2 separate regions of the Homo sapiens genome follow, and region 1 is linked to region 2. Evidence: promoter capture Hi-C in 16 types of primary human blood cells and fetal thymus (Javierre and others, 2016). All regions are on one chromosome and are shown on one strand. Each heading gives the region's core, a stretch centred on a gene start or on the middle of the fragment in contact. The rest is flanking DNA. Distances are from core to core; before and after follow the strand shown. Region 1 overlaps RCOR1 (REST corepressor 1). Region 2 holds the start of AMN (amnion associated transmembrane protein).

Region 1 (5,261 bases), core at 251-2,750, 220 kb after region 2:
TTATATATATTTATATGTTATATATATGATATATAAAGGTCTTCTCAGCTTAGAAAGAAAAAAAGTAGAAATAGAATAAGCAACAAAAGAGGTAAGATGAGATCCAGCAATACTTTGCTAATGGTAATTTTTATGCTGGAATTATAATATAGGAAATTTTCATGCTAATGATCATTTTTAAAGGAGAAATGATCAAGACTACCATCCTTAAGAATTCATACAGGTATATTTTGCAATCAAAAGTAGCTTCAATGACCAGGATAGAGTAATTAAATGTAAGGCCAAGTCCAAAAGAAAGGGTACAATTTCACATAATCTAAACTCTTGGTAACTTCCATCATTCAGAAAAATAAGAAATGTCAGTAACTTCCAGGTTGTAAGATCTAGATTAATGCCATGGAAAGCATTAATCCAACTTGATGTGTTTAAAATAAATCATTAAAGCTGAAATAAGGTATCACCACACTTTTGCAGAAAAATAAATCTTGTGGATTTCTTATTAGTACATTCCAAACAATATTTAAAAGAAAATCTTGGCCAGGCGCAGTGGCTCACGCCTGTAATCCCAACACTTTGGGAGGCCCCTTCTCTACTAAAAATACAAAAATTAGCCAGGCGTGGTGGTGTGCACCTGTAATCTCAGCTACTTGAGAGGCCGAGGCACGAGAATTACGAGAACTACTTGAACCCCGGAGGCAGAGGTTGCAATGAGCTGAGATGCGCCACTGCACTCCAGCCTGGTCACCAGAGCGAGACTCCATCTCAAACTGAAAATGATTCAAAATGGTGAATATTAAAACACTTTAGGTAAGAATGTGAAAACATGCGTCAAAAAACATCATGATACAACCAGAAGAATGACAAACAAATCACATATTCAAATGAGAAAGCATTATGCTCAAGCATCCAGCTCCTTAGTAATCACTAAGTAATCAGTGTCCTAAAGGCTGTAGATCTGCAGATGACAGATATGCCTTTCAAATCAAAGGGTCCTCTAATATTCATCTTGAACAAGAAAAAGAAGACCAGAGTTTGTGTAACACTACTAGTAATTACCAAAAAGTTGCTAATGAAGAAACACTGCTACTCAATACAAAGAAGAAAAAAATATAATTATTTAGTTACAAATACTCATTTTTTAACAGCAAAAGAAAGAAAACCATGATATTACCTGTTCCATGTTGTACCCATGCTTTTCTTTGGCAATGGCAATGTATTCATCCACTGAAAAACAAGAAGAGATGCCATTAAACAAACTGAGGGACAGAGTACACCCTATGGTCTGCTAGAATTGATATACGTGTATATTTCAGGCCTGCTGATATGGTTTGGCTGTGTCCCCACCCAAATCTCATTTTGATTTGTATCTCCCACAATTCCCAAGTGCTGTAGGAGGGACCCAACTGGAGGTAACTGAATCATGGAGGATGGGCTTTCCTGTGCTATTCTCCTGTTAGTAAGTCTCACAAGATCTGATGGTTTTAAAAAGGGGAGTTTCCCTGCACAAGCTCTCTTTGCCTGCCGCCATCCATGTAAAATATGACTTGCTCCTCGCTCCTCCTCGCTTTCTACCATGATTGTAAGGCCTTCCTAGCCATGTGAAACTCTAAGTCCATTAAACCTCTTTTTCTTCCCAGTCTCGGGTATGTCTTTACCAACAGCATAAAAACGGACTAATACACTTGTCCTGTACAAGACTAAAAATAAAGAACACACAGTAACAAAACAGAACCATTATAATAGTTATTGATCCTGCAGAGAAACGTCTGAATGAATATTCTCAAATATTAACAGCAGTATCACCTGGTGATGAGATTATGAGTCTTCTTTAAAAGAGAAAAACAAAGGCTCATGCCTGTAATCCTAACACTTCGGAAAGCTGAGGCGGGAGGATCCCTTGAGGCCAGGAGTTCTAGATTAGCCTGGATAACATAGTGAAATCCTGTCTCTACAAATAATTTTTAAAAATAATTAGTCAGGGCTGGATGCTGCAGCTCATGCCTGTAATCCCAGCATTTTGGGAGGCTAGGGCAGGCGAATCACTTTGAGGTCAGGAGTTCGAGAGCAACCTGACCAACATGGCGAAACCCCATCTCTACTAAAAATACAAAAATTAGCCAGGTGTGGTGGCACATGCCTGTAATCCCAGCTACTTGGGAGGCTGAGGCAGGAGAATCGCTTGAACCCGGGAGGCAGAGGTTGCAGTGAACCAAGATTGCACCACTGCACTCCAGCCTGGTGACAGAGCAAGACTCTGTCTCAAAAAAAGAAAAAGGGAAAAGGAAGACAAAATCTTTAGTTCTACTTAAAACTTTCTACAACAAACAAGTACTACTTTAAACAACATGTCTAGCAGTAAAAAGAAATATGAAATTGGGCGTCATTTTTAGTTTCAGCTCAGGTTGAATAATGAACAAACTATTCTTTATGTTTTAAAAAATTCTTAAGAGATAGATTACGTGACCCAGTGCTTGGTATTTGCTTTCAAATATGTACTACTCCAATATAAGGTGGCTAGCTTTCAAGAACCATGGAAAATACCAAGGAAAATGAATTGACTCAACCTCTAGGAGAAGCTGCCACCCCCAAAGATGAATCAATTTCCTCCCTGAGGATATTCTAGTCTTTCTTCCCAAGTGTACAAGAAAAAATAATGCACTAGTCAATAGCACTGCCATATGTTCATGCATGATTTTCCTTTATGAATTAAAAAAATAACAACAACACAAGCTAAAAAAAAAAAAAATCAAGGAGCATAGAACTGTATGAAGTAGGCAGTAAAATCCTGACTAGCCCCTATTCCCTCTTGGCTCCTAAATCTTACTCTCTAGGTACAATGGCCAAACTTAGAGAAAACAGGCTCAGAGTGATCCACTTTCCCACTATGACACAAAGAGTAAACAGAGGAGTCCTAATAAAAGTCTGAGCTTCTACAACTTAGTTTGCCATGCGATTATACCAAAAGCATGCTCCCAGCTCTGGGAGAACTGTCAACCAATTTAGGAAACAGAAATCAATTTTGAAAAAGAATTCCAACTCTTATAGAAGCATGTATTCTAAAAATTGGGGAAAAATATTCCATTGACAAAAGAAAAAGTCAACCTAATTCAAACAATAACTAATTATATACTGCAGCTCAATATTAATTCTAATACTAAGCCACTAATTTCCGATTTAATATTTAAAATAGTTACAAACTGGTTACTTCACTCAGATTACAGTAAAATTTCAATTTACTTGAAGGTCAGCAAATGACAAATGAAATGACCATAGCTTGTCACAAAAGTATAACTGGTGATTTTAAAAAGCAGGGCAGAGGCCAGGCGCGGTGGCTCACGCCTGTAATCCCAGCATTTCCGGAGGCTAAAGCAGGTGGATCACGAAGTCAAGAGATCAACATCATCCTGGCCAACATGGTGAAACCCCATCTCTACTAAAAATACAAAAATTAGCTGGGCGTGGTGGCGCATGCCTGTAGTTCCAGCTACTTGGGAGGCTGAGGTTGCAGTGAGCCAAGATCGTGCCACTGAACTCCAGCCTTGGTGACAGAGCAAGACTTCATCTCAAAAAAAAAAAGGCAGGGCAGGGAATTACTCCAAAGTGTGTCCCTTGCTTTTTCCTTCACAATACATTAGATTATGCCAAATAAAAGTGCTCTCAGATTCTAAAAAATGTCAGATGAGGCTGCTCGAACAGGTGGTTCTGTATACCTGGCCAGAACCCTGCAGAGAGACACAGGTAATATGGGGGTTCATACTGGAGGAGATGAGATGCAAATGGCAGCATACCAGACCTAGAAACAGACAGCAGGCCAGCTGATTAAAAACCAGGTCATGAGATGCACTCAGGAATATGTAAGGACAGAAGGCGAAAACAATCTGCGGTAAATTGAGGGTCAACTCTGGAGAAGGTCTGCTTGTTTAAAACTGGCTTGAAGGGTTCCTTCCTTTAATAAATACTTGGTGAATGAACAACAAATGAACCTTAAGCTTCTGCTGTAAATCTCAAGTCTCAGAGCACACTATTATCTACCTTAACTGAGTAAGGAATGTATGTATGATCACCAGTAGCACGATCTTTGAGCAAACACATGCACAGGCTGAAAAAGTGATGCAGGAGTCCCTGGAGTGGCCCAGCACAGGGGCTAGTCCTGCCTGTGGTTCTTGGGCATATGTTATCTGCTCAGAGTCCCTCCTGCTACATCAGTAACAAGGCCTGTAATGCCTGTGCCCACTGTCTGCAACCAGATTTAGCTACAAATTTTAAGACACACACAAGCATTTGTTGAATGCTACTCCATTTTCAACTCCTCTTTTGCTTTATATCTTAAGAATCAGCTGGTGACAGGAACAACAAGACAGTAACAGTAGATCCCGAATGCTGCAGCTGAGGTTATATAGGACATCTGCCATATTGTAAACAATAAGGTATTCTTACTAAGGTAACCTTTAAAGTCATGTAACTTTTGGATTTTCTTGGATGGCCGGGTGCGGTGGCTCATGCCAGTAATCCCAGCACTTTGGGAGGCTGAGGCAAGAGGATCACTTGAGGTCAGGAGTTCGAGACCAGCCCGGCCAACATGGTGAAACCCCATCTCTACTAAAAATACAAAAATCAGCTGGGCACGGTGGTGCGTGTCTGTAATCCCAGCTACTTGGAAGGCTGAGGCAGGACAATCGCTTGAATCCTGGAGGCAGAGGTTGCAGTGAGCCAAGATCGTGCCACTGCATTCCAACCTGGGCAACAGAGCGAGACCCTGTCCAAAAAAAAAAAAAAAATTCTTGGAAGATCACCCTGATGACTCAAATCTAAAGTAAAGGAAGAAAGCACTCTACTGTAGTAACTACTTAAATGAAGACACATGGTGTGTCTACTAGGTGCTCGGAAGGTTGTGATGAAGTAAGTTAATGTACCAGGAGCCCTCTAACCTGTAAAAGGAATTACCATCTAATACCTACTAGCAAATATACACTTTTTCATTCTTTTCATTGTTCCCAATGTCCAACAAAAATCAGACAGACATTTGCTGAATGAATGCCTGGGGTGCTGTATTATGTACAATGTCAACATATGAGGTTTCCTGTCCCACAAGATAAAAGGCAGCACAGGTTATGTACAGGGTAAGAAAGACCCGGGTCAAATTCTGGCTCTGTCTCAAAATAAAATGAGTTTGTCTAGCAGTGCATGGCACACAGTCAGCACTGTATGACTATGTTATCTTTAGCAACGCCCTGACCTTCCCAAGAATTAGTTCTCACCAA
Region 2 (5,255 bases), core at 324-2,823:
CTGGGCATCACAAGGGCTGTGGGGACAGGGGTGCCTCCCATCCCTCCCAGGACACAGCCTGGCTGGGACCATGGGACCAAGCTCCCCTAGGTTCCCCCCCACTCCCTGCCTCCTAGAATATTCTCCAGAGGCCAAAGTCCCAGTCCTGCAGTGCCTCCATGCCGGTGGGGTCCGCCCTCAAGGCACAGCAGTCCCTGAAGGCGCTTCAGAGACTCTGTGAACCCCCAGCCCAGTGGCAGTAGCAGCCCGGCCTTACCATGTCTGAGACGGCGTGACCTTCTTGCACCAGGACTGACACCATCTGCAGGAAGAAGCTGCCTCAGCCGAGCCGGGAGCAACCCCCACCGGGGCCACACGGTCTCAGGGGTCCAGGCCCATCACCGACCCCGCCGGCGCTCCCAGGCACCTTGTCCGCCGGGAACTCAACGGCGCCGCCGGCGCACGGGGTCCGGTTCTGGCTCCAGTTGGCTGCGACGTCGAAGTCCGTGTTGGGGACCCAGAGTTTGGAGACCGCCTGGGTCAGTGCTGGGGAGGAGGCGACTGAGTGCCCGGGATGCTCTCCGGGATGCTCCCTTCTCAGGGAAGGCCACCCACCCAGAGAAGTGCGGAAGGTCCGCGCGGATCACCCGGGACGCATAGGAACCCCATCCCCGGGGGCCCGGACCCAGACCCTGGTCCCTCCCGGCCAGACTGTGGGCGCCCTGCCCGGGCGCTCTCCAACGGACTTCTACTGATACCTGCAGAGCCCGCTCAAACGCGCCCTGCAGGACGCCTGCCTAGATAGCCTCCCGGCACTGCCCCCAGTTTGCCTGGCGCTGGAGCAGAGGACAGCGTTGTTAAGGACAGTGACAACTGGGGCATGGAGGAGGATGGGGCAGCACAGACCTCTTCTCGGCCTTGGAATCAGGAAGGCTTCCCGGAGGAGTCCTACCTGGGCCGGGAAGAGCTGCGACAGAGCGCAACCCGGTATGAGAAGTAAGAAGGGGCTGGGGGCGGCAGGACCAGGTCAGGCCGGCCCTGAATGTGGTGGGTGGGGTTGTCCTGAGGGAGCCGCGAGGGGTTTAGGGAAGGGGGCGCCAGGGACACGCGCCGGCCTGGTGTGAAGGCGGAGGAGGGCTCAGTGCTCCCTTGGGGACCGGGAAGCTGAGGCGGTCTGCCGAGCCCCGCAGGCGCACACTCGCTGCTCTCGGCAGGTTCTGGGGACCGCGCCCATTTCGCAGACGGAAAAACCGCGAGGGCAGGAGCCGCCGGAGGCCGGGGCTGGCCGAGGTTCCCGGAGCCCCTCCTCTCCTCTCCCGCACCGCCCGATGCACTGGCCGCGCACTTCCGGGCTGCGCACTCGCCAGACGAGGGAGGCAGGGCCGAGTTTCACGCCCCCAACCCTCCAAAGCCCTCCCTGCCCACTCCTCGGAAGATCTTCACCCTCCAGGCCTAGAGCGACCTCGGCCCTGGGTCCTGACAGACCGCTACCGTCCGGGCCCGCACCGGTGTGGTCCCGGCTCACCGCAGAGCTGCAGCCACAGCAGGACCCGGCCCAGGACGCCCATCTCGCCTCGGCTCCTTGCACCCCACCAGGAGACTTTGCCCCACTGGACCCACGTGACCAGGCAGGTCGGGTGGGGGCACCAGGGTCGGTTACACATTTACCTCCAGACCCGCCCAGGGCCGACTCTTCAGGCCCCTGGGAGGCACCTTCTCAGCCTCCCCTTACCCGCCCCTGCAGGGCCTGAACACCTTAGGTTCTCAGGAAGAAGGGCAAAGAAGAAGGGCTTGGCGAGACTGACCTACCCTGTAAAATGGGTGTCTTGCCGGGAGGGGGAATAAACGACCTTTGAATTCACCCCTTTCTCTGTCCTGTGTGCTGCTAGGGCTGAGCTAGTCTGCTCACCATTGGAACTGGGTGTCCACTTCTCCACGCAGTGCCCCTGTCCCATGGGCTGTGGGTGGTGGTTGGATGATAGAAGGAAGATCCTGGATGGAACATGGTATGTGGATGGTATAGGAGGGTGGATTGTGGATGATGGTGGAGAGTAGTGGATGGTGAGTAGGGGACAGCTGATGGACAGCAACATTGATGGTGCATGGTGTACGGCATATGGACGCATGGCAGATGAATGGTAAATGGTTGACGGGGTGGATGGTGAGTGATAGAGGGTGGATGGGTGATGAATGGATGGATGAGGATGGTGAGTGAAAAATGAATGAATGGCCGGGCGTGGTGGCTCATGCCTGTAATCCCAGCACTTTGGGAGGGTGAGGCAGGCGGATCGCGAGGTCAGGAGATCAAGACCATCCTGGCTAACGCGGTGAAACCCCGTCTATACTAAAAATATACAAAAAAATTAACCGGGCATGGTAGAAGGCGCCTGTAGTCCCAGCTACTTGGGGGGCTGAGGCAGAACGGCGTGAACCCAGGAGGTGGAGCTTGCAGTGAGCCACGATCGTGCGCTGCACTCCAGCCTGAGCGACAGAGCGAGACTCCGTCTCAAAAAAAAAAAAAAAAAAAGGAAAAGGAATGGATGGTAATCAGGGAGTGGTGGATGGATAATGGCATAAATGGATACATGGCCGACAGGTAGATCATAAAGAGTGGGTGTTGGCGGGGCACGGTGGCTCACGCCTGTAACCGCAGCACTTTGGGAGGCCAAGGCGGGCAGATCACCTGAGGTCGGGAGTTCGAGACCAGCCTGACCAACATGGAGAAACCCCATCTCTACTAAAAATACAAAATTAGATAGGCATGGTGGCACATGCCTGTAATCCCAGCTACTTGGGAGGCTAAGGCAGGAGAATCGTTTGAACCTGGAAGGCGGAGGTTGTGGTGATCGGAGATCACGCCACTGTGCTCCAGCCTGGGCAACAAGAGTGAAACCCCATCTCAAAAAAAAAAAAGTGGGTGTTAAATGGTGGATGTTTGGTGAGTGATGAATGCTGAATGGATGGATGGTGGATGGTGAATAGATAGATGGTAAATGGATAGATGGTGGATGATGGTTGCATAAATGGTGAATTGTGGATGGAGATGGACGGTGGATAGTGAATAGATGGTGGATAGTGAATAGACAGTGGATAGTGGATAATGGGTGGATAGTAGATGGTGGATAGGATGATAAATGGATGGGTAATGGATGGTAGATAAGTAGATAATGGATAAATGGTGGATGATGGATGGTAGGTGGATGATGGTTGGTGGGTGGTGGATAATGGACAAGTGAATGGTGATGAGTAGATGGTGAATATTAAGTGGATGGATGGGCGGCAGATGGTAGATAGTGGATGATAGATGGTGGATGGTGGATGGTAAGATGAATAGTGGTTGGTGGATGGTGGGTGGTGGATGGTGGGTGGATGGAAGGATGGGTGGTGAATGAGTGAATGGTGGATGGTGAATAGGTGGATGGTGGATGGTGGATGGTGAATGGCCGATGGTGGATGTGAATGGTGATGGGTGGTGGATGAATGGATGGATGAATGGCGAATGGTGGATGGCAGATTGTGGATAAGTGGATGGTGGATGGATGGATGGTGGATGGGTGAATGGGTGGATGGATGAATGGTGGATGGTAGACAGTGGATGAGGGATGATAGATGAATGGTGGGTGGTGGATGAGTGGATGGCGAATGGGTGAATGGACATATAGATGGGTGGATGGATGGATGGTGGATGGTGGGTGAGTGAATGATGGGTGGATGGTGGATGAAGGGATGGTGGATGGTAGATGGGTGGATGTGTGAATGGGTGGATGGATGAATGGACGCTGGATGAGTGAATTGTGGATGATGGATGAGTGGATGGTGGATATGTGAATGGGTAGAGGGATGGATGGGTAGATGGATGGTGGAGAATGGATGGTGGATGAGTGAATGGTGGATGAATGGATGGTAGGTTGTGGATGGGTGGATGGTGAATGTGTGGATGGATAGATGGTGGATGGATGGATAGTGGGAGTGGATGGTGGATGGATGAATGGTGGATAGATGGATGGTGGATGTATGCATGAATGGACGGTGGATAAATGAATGGTGAATGAATGAGTGGTAGATGGATGGAAGGTGATGGTGGATGGTGAATTGGGATAGATGGGTGGTGCGTTATGAATGGTGGATGATGGATGGTGGATGGATGGAAGGTGATGGTGGATGGTGAATGGGGATAGATGGATGTTGGATGATGGATGGTGGATGGATGGAAGGTGATGGTGGATGGTGAATGGGGATGGATGGTGGATGATGGATGGTAGATGGATGGAAGGTGATGGTGGATGGTGAATGGGGATAGATGGATGGTGGATGATGGATGGGAGATGGATGGAAGGTGATGGTGGATGGTGAATGGGGATAGATGGATGTTGGATGATGGATGGTGGATGGATGGAAGGTGATGGTGGATGGTGAATGGGGATAGATGGATGTTGGATGATGGATGGTGGATGGATGGAAGGTGATGGTGGATGGTGAATGGGGATAGATGGATGGTGGATGATGGATGGTGGATGGATGGAAGGTGATGGTGGATGGTGAATGGGGATAGATGGGTGGTGGATGATGGATGGTAGATGGATGGAAGGTGATGGTGGATGGTGAATGGGGATGATGGGTGGTGTGTTATGAATGGTGGATGGTGGATGGTAGGTAGATGGAAGGTGATGGTGGATGGTGAATGGGGATAGATGGGTGGTGCGTTATGAATGGTGGATGATGGGTGGTGGGTTGATATAGTATTTTGTAGAAGGACAGTTGATCAACAGACAGATGACGGATGGTAGATGAAAGCAGATAGTTGGCTGGGCGCGGTGGCTCACGCCTGTAACCCCAGCATTTTGGGAGGCTGAGGATGGAGTATCACTTGAGGTCAGGAGTTCAAGACCAGCATGGACAACATGGTGAAACCTTGTCTCTACTAAAAATACAAAAATGAGCCAAATGTGATGGTGCACATTTGTAATCCCAACTACTTGGGAGGCTGGGGCCGAATTGCTTCAACCTGGGAGGCAGAGGTTGCAGTGAGCCGAGATTGTGCCACTCCACTCCAGCCTGGGCGACAGAGTGAGACTCTATTAAAAAAAAAAAAAAAAAAAAAAAAAAAAAGAGTAGATAGTTGATTGTGGATGGTGAATGGGTAAGTGTATGGATGGCAGCTCACAGATGGTGAATGTTATTGGTGGATGGATGGATAGAAGAGTGATTATGGAAGGATGGTTGATGGATGGTAGATGGTAGTTGAATAAAGGAGAACGAGGGAAAGGGCGGACGGT

What was found. Contacts are between HindIII fragments. The CHiCAGO score rates a contact against its expected background, and 5 or more counts as called.
Region 1: a fragment that was not itself captured here is called in contact with the fragment with the promoter of AMN in region 2 in 1 of 17 cell types (total B cells); the score reaches 5.3 in total B cells.

Annotation. Positions count from the first base shown.
Region 1 is chr14:102,697,241-102,702,501 of GRCh38, reverse strand. It overlaps RCOR1 (REST corepressor 1), which reads right to left. Exons shown (of 12, transcript NM_015156.4): 4 at 1,172-1,224. Among named protein-coding and RNA genes, the nearest start is that of TRAF3, 78 kb to the left of the region's middle. The HindIII fragment of the contact is 4,983 bases long and covers 1-3,991 here.
Region 2 is chr14:102,918,981-102,924,235 of GRCh38, reverse strand. It overlaps AMN (amnion associated transmembrane protein), which reads right to left and starts at 1,573. Exons shown (of 12, transcript NM_030943.4): 1 at 1,505-1,573; 2 at 407-525; 3 at 257-301. The coding sequence starts at 1,547. RefSeq lists a silencer at 1,150-1,349. The HindIII fragment of the contact is 27,416 bases long and covers 1-5,255 here.